Linked DNA regions of Homo sapiens: region 1 is linked to region 2. The links are contacts of gene promoters, found by promoter capture Hi-C in blood cells and fetal thymus (Javierre and others, 2016). All regions are on one chromosome and are shown on one strand. The core of a region is centred on a gene start or on the middle of the fragment in contact, and the rest is flanking DNA. Distances in the headings are between cores, read along the strand shown. Region 1 has its middle 210 kb from the start of BCL2. Region 2 holds the start of BCL2 (BCL2 apoptosis regulator).

Region 1 (3,961 bases), core at 1,232-3,731, 210 kb after region 2:
TTCTTTCCACCCTCTACTGCAAGTGTCTCTGTCCTATTTGAGCCACAGCTGGACTCCTGGCCTCACCCTCACCTACAAAGTGACTGTCATATACAAAGGGTAAACCTCGGGAACAGCACTACCCAACAGAAATTAAATGTGAGCCACAGGTGTGAGCCACATATGTAATTTTTTTTTTTTTTTTGTCAGACGGAGTCTCTCTCTGCCACCCAGGCTGGAGTGCAGTGGCACGATCTCGGCTCACTGCAACCTCCGCCTCCTGGGATCAAGCAATTCTCCTGCCTCAGCCTCCCAAGTAGCTAGGACTACCGGTGCATGCCACCATGCTAGGGTAGTTTTTGTACATTTAGTAGAGACAGGGTTTCACCATGTTACCCAGGGTGGTCTTGAACCCCTGAACTCGCAATCTGCCTGCCTCAGCTTCCCGAAGTGCTAGGATTACAGGCATGAGCCACTGTACCTGGCCGGCGTATGTAATTTTTAATTTGTTAGTAGCCACATTTAAAAATTTTTTCAATAAACCCATGAAATTAATTGTTAAATATATTTTATTTAACCCAATTTATCATGTTAACATATAATACAAAAATTTTGAGATAGGCATGTAGGGAAAACTCTCAAACTGTGTCTTTCCTCTACCATCATACCACAACAATCATCAACACAGAAGACTTCTGTGACCTAATGTATGGGTATTTTTCCCCACACACCAAGCAGGGAACACTAGCTGGCTGTCCTCTAATTCAGTTCCAACACTGTCTACCTGGAGACCTTGTCAGATCCCACAGGTTGAGGGCTCAGTCCCCAAGACTGCCTCCGACCACACCAGTCAGAAGTCCAGGCCTTTGGAACTGCTGACCAACAAGCTTCAAGTTGGGGTCCCCAGAGCCCCCTCTTTGGCTTCAGTGAATTTGCTGGAGCAGCTCACAGAACTCAGGGAAGTACTTACTTATGTTTACCGGTTTATGGTAAAAGATATTGCAAAGGATACAGATGAAGAGACACGTGGGATGAGGAATGGGGGACAGGGTGTGGAGCTTCTACGCCCTCCCTCGGTGCCACCCTCCAGGAACCTCAGCATGTTCAGCTGTCTGGAGGCTCCTTGAACCCTGTCCGCTGGGTTTTTATGGAAGCTTCATGATGTCAGCATTCCTTTCCCCAGGGCACAGGGTAGGAACCACTCATAGGAAGGTCTTAAGGACCTCAATCAGCTGCACGGAGTCTCTGTGCAGTGGACCTAGGCTCCAGCTGTGGCTACAACATAGGGTTTTTATACAAGAAAAATAAAGTGAATTAAGCCTGAAAAAAAGAAAAGAACCTCAATCAGAAAAGCAGTAGAGTCCTGCCCTGGGGCAGGTGAAAAGGGGCAGAAGTAGGTCAGAGACTTAACACACCCAACATCATAATAAAAGATGGTAACAAAGGCTATGCGAGTCACAAGCCAGGAACCACGGAGGAAAACCAGTACCTATCATAACACCACAATAGGCTATTTTTTTTTTTTCATACTAAGGCTTTGAAGTCAATGTGGAATTGACAGTGGCAGCATATCTCAGTGTGAGTGAGCCACATTTCAAGTGCTCAAGAGCCACATGTGGCTGGTGGCCACCATGCTGGACCATAGCACCGGACCAGACCCTGTGTACAGATATTTGACATCTCATGCACAAGTGATGTGTCTGCAAAACGACTTCCTCTTCAGGCCCCCGCTGCTCCCCACCTCACCCCATACTTGTTAATTAAGTTGTTAAAACAGGAAAACATCTTCTCCAACTCCCTCAATTCTCCTTTTTCAAGCTTAATCCAAAAAGGTTCTTACTTTTGAAACAGTTGTTATCAGTTCAAAGGGGAAACTAAATCTGAAATGTGTCCAGTGGAAGGATTGCAAGTCCTCTTGACAGGCAGTAAACTCTTGATATCAGGTCAGGGTTTGAATTCTGGCTTGCTAAGTGCACGACTTTGGGCAAAACATGTGGCCTCTTTGCATCTTTGATCATCAGTTCAATGGGTTGTGACACTTGTCCCACCATATTCTACCAGCCTCATACGGGGTAGTGGAGTCAGGGAGATCAAAGTGATGAATGTGAAAGAGTTTTCATGCCACATAAAATGGAAAATAATATTATTTATTATGAAAAACCATTAAAACATTATTTTCTGTGCAGCTACAGAAAATAATAAATCCACAATAGCTACGCAGACAGTGTAAAGATTCAAAGTAACAAACTGAACCAAAGAAGCAAATTCCTGTAATTACACGTCAACAATTTTCTCAACTACTACCAAACTTTGACTTGTCATTTTTATTTACAAAGACAGAGAGGGAATAATAAACGTCCCCCAAGATAATAATCAACTGTGGTCCTTGGAGCCAGGTACACAACATGAGAATGCATCTTGATAATGGCTTACAATAAACTTAGTTATGATCTTGACAATGACACTGCAGAGAGCATCACATGTGGACCTTTTTTTCAAAGACCAACAATTTGAGATATCTGCAGAGACTTCCTGCAATATCTCTGCCCCATAACCACCTGGATATTTCCTTGCAGTGATAGTTTTTAGATTAGTAACATTAGCTTCTAACATTCCCTATGACACCACTTAAAACTTACCTCCTTATTGTTTTATTTAAAATGAGATCTGTGTGCCAGGGAATGGGGAAATAGGTTGTCTTCATTCCTAATTTGTTCTCTCCCAAGTGTTATTTAAAAACAAAATTCCAATTTTGGGCTTTTCCCATTTGCCTTTACTAATTACTTCTTTTATGTTCCACCCATTTGTGCCATAACTAATTCAAGTTCAAATAGAACTTAGTCACTATTCCATCACAGTCATCTCCTGCTCCTAGAGAAGTCATCCACACGCCACAAAGACAGGAACCAAGAAGGCCTTGGCGCTTCATGAGACCACAAGTGTTGTCCCTCTGATCCAATCACGTGAGACCAAATTTGTCTGGGTCCAAGAGTGTAGAACGTGTCCTTACCTCCAAATTCACATGTGCTAGTTGTACGGCATGTGGAAATAAATGCAGACCAACCAAATGAGAAAAGCAAAGGCTATTTATTCAGAGCTTGCTATATATACTAAGGGAGTCGGCCACTCACTATCTTTTGCATTTTGGCAGAGAATCAAAGGCAAACAGATAAGTGGGAAAGCTTTAAAATGGCAAAGAGGGAAGGCTTTGAGCTCACCCTGATGGGAGGTTGTTGGCATAGGGTGGGGGCGCCTACATGGAGGTGGGCTAATTAGAAGCAGGACATCCTACATGAATAATTAGAGGTGCATATTGGCTTTCTCTGGTTGGTCCTAAATTGGAATCAGGGAAGAAAATCAAGGAAGCAGTCCATTATTAATTAACTCCTGGCCATTTGGGGGCAATTGTACAGAGGTTATTGTCTGGCTTCATGGGTTGTTTCTACAGACAGTGATCTGACTTCCTGCAAGTCTGATTTATAGCAGACCTGTTTCCTGGGCCGGTAACAGTAGGTCATGAGCTGGTTTCCTGGGCTGGCTGCTGTAGACTGTGGGTCTGAATTCTATTTTTATATCTGGTCTGGCCATTGCCCATTTGTATATTCAGTCTCTCAGCTGCAAAACAAAGCCAGTGAGGATGACAGGAACCTAGAAAGGAATAAACTTGAATGATCAGCAAATTATCAAATGAAGTCACCAGACTTCTGCAACACCCTGGCAGCCACCCAGCAATTTGCTAATGACATCCTCTAAGTCCTCCTCTCCCACTCCATAGCCACACCTTGGTGACATTTTTTTGTCTCCATTGCCACATTATATGAGACAGTGCTTCAAGAGCACATGCAATCCTGCAAAAACCACCAAGATGTGCAGAACTCAGATGCAGGAATTCAGCCTCATGTCTGGAGGCCTGATGATGCAACAGGTTATCCAAAGGGGATGCTGGGGTCCCAAAAGTTTTCTGAGATAAAGAATTTGGAAG
Region 2 (3,588 bases), core at 16-2,515:
TGTGTAGTGCGCGGACACCTAGGAAGCTACTTGAAAGTAAACACCACGCTCGGGGCGTCCCTAGACATTGCTTAAAACGTGCAGAGTCACCTGTCTTCACAGCAGGGCAGCGCTGAGGTCCCACTGCTGGGGGCGGTGGGGGGCGGCATTGGCCTGGGTCTTCCCCCGGCGGCCGAGCGCCGGTAACACAACGTGTGTGTGTGTAGGCGCGTGTACACACTCTCATACACGGCTAGAAAGGGTCCAGGCGACACACACACTCCCACATACACGGCTAGAAAAGGTCCAGGCGAGACACACACACACACACACACACACACACACACTCCACACACACTCACACGGCCAGAAAGGGTCCAGGCGGTTCCCGGCGCTTTTCCAGCCCTTGTTTTCATGGCGCACCCTCCCGCCAGCCGCCCCCCTCCGCACTCCGTCGTCCGCCCGGCCCGGCCGCGTGCGGTTCCCCGGGAGCCCCCACCCCGTCGCGGACCCCAGCGACCACCAAGTCCGCACGCGGCCTGCCGCAGGCCTGAGCAGAAGGCCCCGCGCACACCCACCGCGCCGCGGCCGCGCGGGAGGCCTGTGCCGCCCGCGCCACCCACTGGCCGGGCCCCGCGGGCGCAGCGGAGCGGGCGGGTGGCCGGCCCGGACGCGCCCTCCCCGGCCGCGGCCCCGCGCGCCATGTGCCCCCGGCGGGACGCGCCACTCCCGGGCCTGCCGCGGCGCCTTTAACCCGGGCCAGGGAGCGGGGCGGAGGGGGCGGTCGGGTGGCTCAGAGGAGGGCTCTTTCTTTCTTCTTTTTTTGAATGAACCGTGTGACGTTACGCACAGGAAACCGGTCGGGCTGTGCAGAGAATGAAGTAAGAGGACAGGCACCACAGCCCCGCTCCCGCCCCCTTCCTCCCGCGCCCGCCCCTCCGCGCCGCCTGCCCGCCCGCCCGCCGCGCTCCCGCCCGCCGCTCTCCGTGGCCCCGCCGCGCTGCCGCCGCCGCCGCTGCCAGCGAAGGTGCCGGGGCTCCGGGCCCTCCCTGCCGGCGGCCGTCAGCGCTCGGAGCGGGCTGCGCGGCGGGAGCTCCGGGAGGCGGCCGTAGCCAGCGCCGCCGCGCAGGACCAGGAGGAGGAGAAAGGGTGCGCAGCCCGGAGGCGGGGTGCGCCGGTGGGGTGCAGCGGAAGAGGGGGTCCAGGGGGGAGAACTTCGTAGCAGTCATCCTTTTTAGGAAAAGAGGGAAAAAATAAAACCCTCCCCCACCACCTCCTTCTCCCCACCCCTCGCCGCACCACACACAGCGCGGGCTTCTAGCGCTCGGCACCGGCGGGCCAGGCGCGTCCTGCCTTCATTTATCCAGCAGCTTTTCGGAAAATGCATTTGCTGTTCGGAGTTTAATCAGAAGAGGATTCCTGCCTCCGTCCCCGGCTCCTTCATCGTCCCCTCTCCCCTGTCTCTCTCCTGGGGAGGCGTGAAGCGGTCCCGTGGATAGAGATTCATGCCTGTGCCCGCGCGTGTGTGCGCGCGTGTAAATTGCCGAGAAGGGGAAAACATCACAGGACTTCTGCGAATACCGGACTGAAAATTGTAATTCATCTGCCGCCGCCGCTGCCTTTTTTTTTTCTCGAGCTCTTGAGATCTCCGGTTGGGATTCCTGCGGATTGACATTTCTGTGAAGCAGAAGTCTGGGAATCGATCTGGAAATCCTCCTAATTTTTACTCCCTCTCCCCGCGACTCCTGATTCATTGGGAAGTTTCAAATCAGCTATAACTGGAGAGTGCTGAAGATTGATGGGATCGTTGCCTTATGCATTTGTTTTGGTTTTACAAAAAGGAAACTTGACAGAGGATCATGCTGTACTTAAAAAATACAAGTAAGTTCTCTGCACAGGAAATTGGTTTAATGTAACTTTCAATGGAAACCTTTGAGATTTTTTACTTAAAGTGCATTCGAGTAAATTTAATTTCCAGGCAGCTTAATACATTCTTTTTAGCCGTGTTACTTGTAGTGTGTATGCCCTGCTTTCACTCAGTGTGTACAGGGAAACGCACCTGATTTTTTACTTATTAGTTTGTTTTTTCTTTAACCTTTCAGCATCACAGAGGAAGTAGACTGATATTAACAATACTTACTAATAATAACGTGCCTCATGAAATAAAGATCCGAAAGGAATTGGAATAAAAATTTCCTGCATCTCATGCCAAGGGGGAAACACCAGAATCAAGTGTTCCGCGTGATTGAAGACACCCCCTCGTCCAAGAATGCAAAGCACATCCAATAAAATAGCTGGATTATAACTCCTCTTCTTTCTCTGGGGGCCGTGGGGTGGGAGCTGGGGCGAGAGGTGCCGTTGGCCCCCGTTGCTTTTCCTCTGGGAAGGATGGCGCACGCTGGGAGAACAGGGTACGATAACCGGGAGATAGTGATGAAGTACATCCATTATAAGCTGTCGCAGAGGGGCTACGAGTGGGATGCGGGAGATGTGGGCGCCGCGCCCCCGGGGGCCGCCCCCGCACCGGGCATCTTCTCCTCCCAGCCCGGGCACACGCCCCATCCAGCCGCATCCCGGGACCCGGTCGCCAGGACCTCGCCGCTGCAGACCCCGGCTGCCCCCGGCGCCGCCGCGGGGCCTGCGCTCAGCCCGGTGCCACCTGTGGTCCACCTGACCCTCCGCCAGGCCGGCGACGACTTCTCCCGCCGCTACCGCCGCGACTTCGCCGAGATGTCCAGCCAGCTGCACCTGACGCCCTTCACCGCGCGGGGACGCTTTGCCACGGTGGTGGAGGAGCTCTTCAGGGACGGGGTGAACTGGGGGAGGATTGTGGCCTTCTTTGAGTTCGGTGGGGTCATGTGTGTGGAGAGCGTCAACCGGGAGATGTCGCCCCTGGTGGACAACATCGCCCTGTGGATGACTGAGTACCTGAACCGGCACCTGCACACCTGGATCCAGGATAACGGAGGCTGGGTAGGTGCACTTGGTGATGTGAGTCTGGGCTGAGGCCACAGGTCCGAGATGCGGGGGTTGGAGTGCGGGTGGGCTCCTGGGGCAATGGGAGGCTGTGGAGCCGGCGAAATAAAATCAGAGTTGTTGCTTCCCGGCGTCCCTACCTCCTCCTCTGGACAAAGCGTTCACTCCCAACCTGACCGATAACGCCTGCCATCTAAAAGTCTTTAACTTGCTTGCTAGTCGTGGAGATCCAAAGATCTAGCGTTTGTAATCCAGTAGGATGTGGTGGTAAATGGTACCCCTTCAGTGTTTCTCAAGCTGAAGGTCCAGGAGTCCCCAGGACCACCGTTTCCTGGCTTGAGCAGCTTGTTGGAACCGGAGGGAGGTTTCAGGGACTGCTTATGAACCAGATACCAGGTTGGGTCTTGACAGTCTGCATCCCAAACAAGCTCCCCTGAAACAAGCCCGTTGTACACTAAAATTGGAGAACAACCCGATTAGAAGAATAGACTCCACAGAAGACCAAGGGCATCATCAATCGGTAAAATTTTCCAAAAGAGGAAAACCAATGTAAGTCTTTTTCCCTGAAAAACTTAGTTGTGTTTGTAAAGAGCTAAGTTGACATTCCAAAGTCCTTGGACTGGAATCTCCAGT

What was found. Contacts are between HindIII fragments. The CHiCAGO score rates a contact against its expected background, and 5 or more counts as called.
Region 1: a fragment that was not itself captured here is called in contact with the fragment with the promoter of BCL2 in region 2 in 16 of 17 cell types (activated CD4 T cells, total CD8 T cells, total CD4 T cells and 13 more); the score reaches 23.7 in activated CD4 T cells.

The regions. Positions count from the first base shown.
Region 1 is chr18:63,111,834-63,115,794 of GRCh38, reverse strand. No RefSeq gene overlaps it. Among named protein-coding and RNA genes, the nearest start is that of BCL2, 210 kb to the left of the region's middle. The HindIII fragment of the contact is 1,364 bases long and covers 1,800-3,163 here.
Region 2 is chr18:63,317,446-63,321,033 of GRCh38, reverse strand. BCL2 (BCL2 apoptosis regulator) reads left to right here and starts at 1,265. Exons shown (of 3, transcript NM_000633.3): 1 at 1,265-1,860; 2 at 2,082-2,952. The coding sequence starts at 2,368. RefSeq lists silencers at 389-458, 489-698, 859-1,048, 2,404-2,643. The HindIII fragment of the contact is 7,545 bases long and covers 1-3,588 here.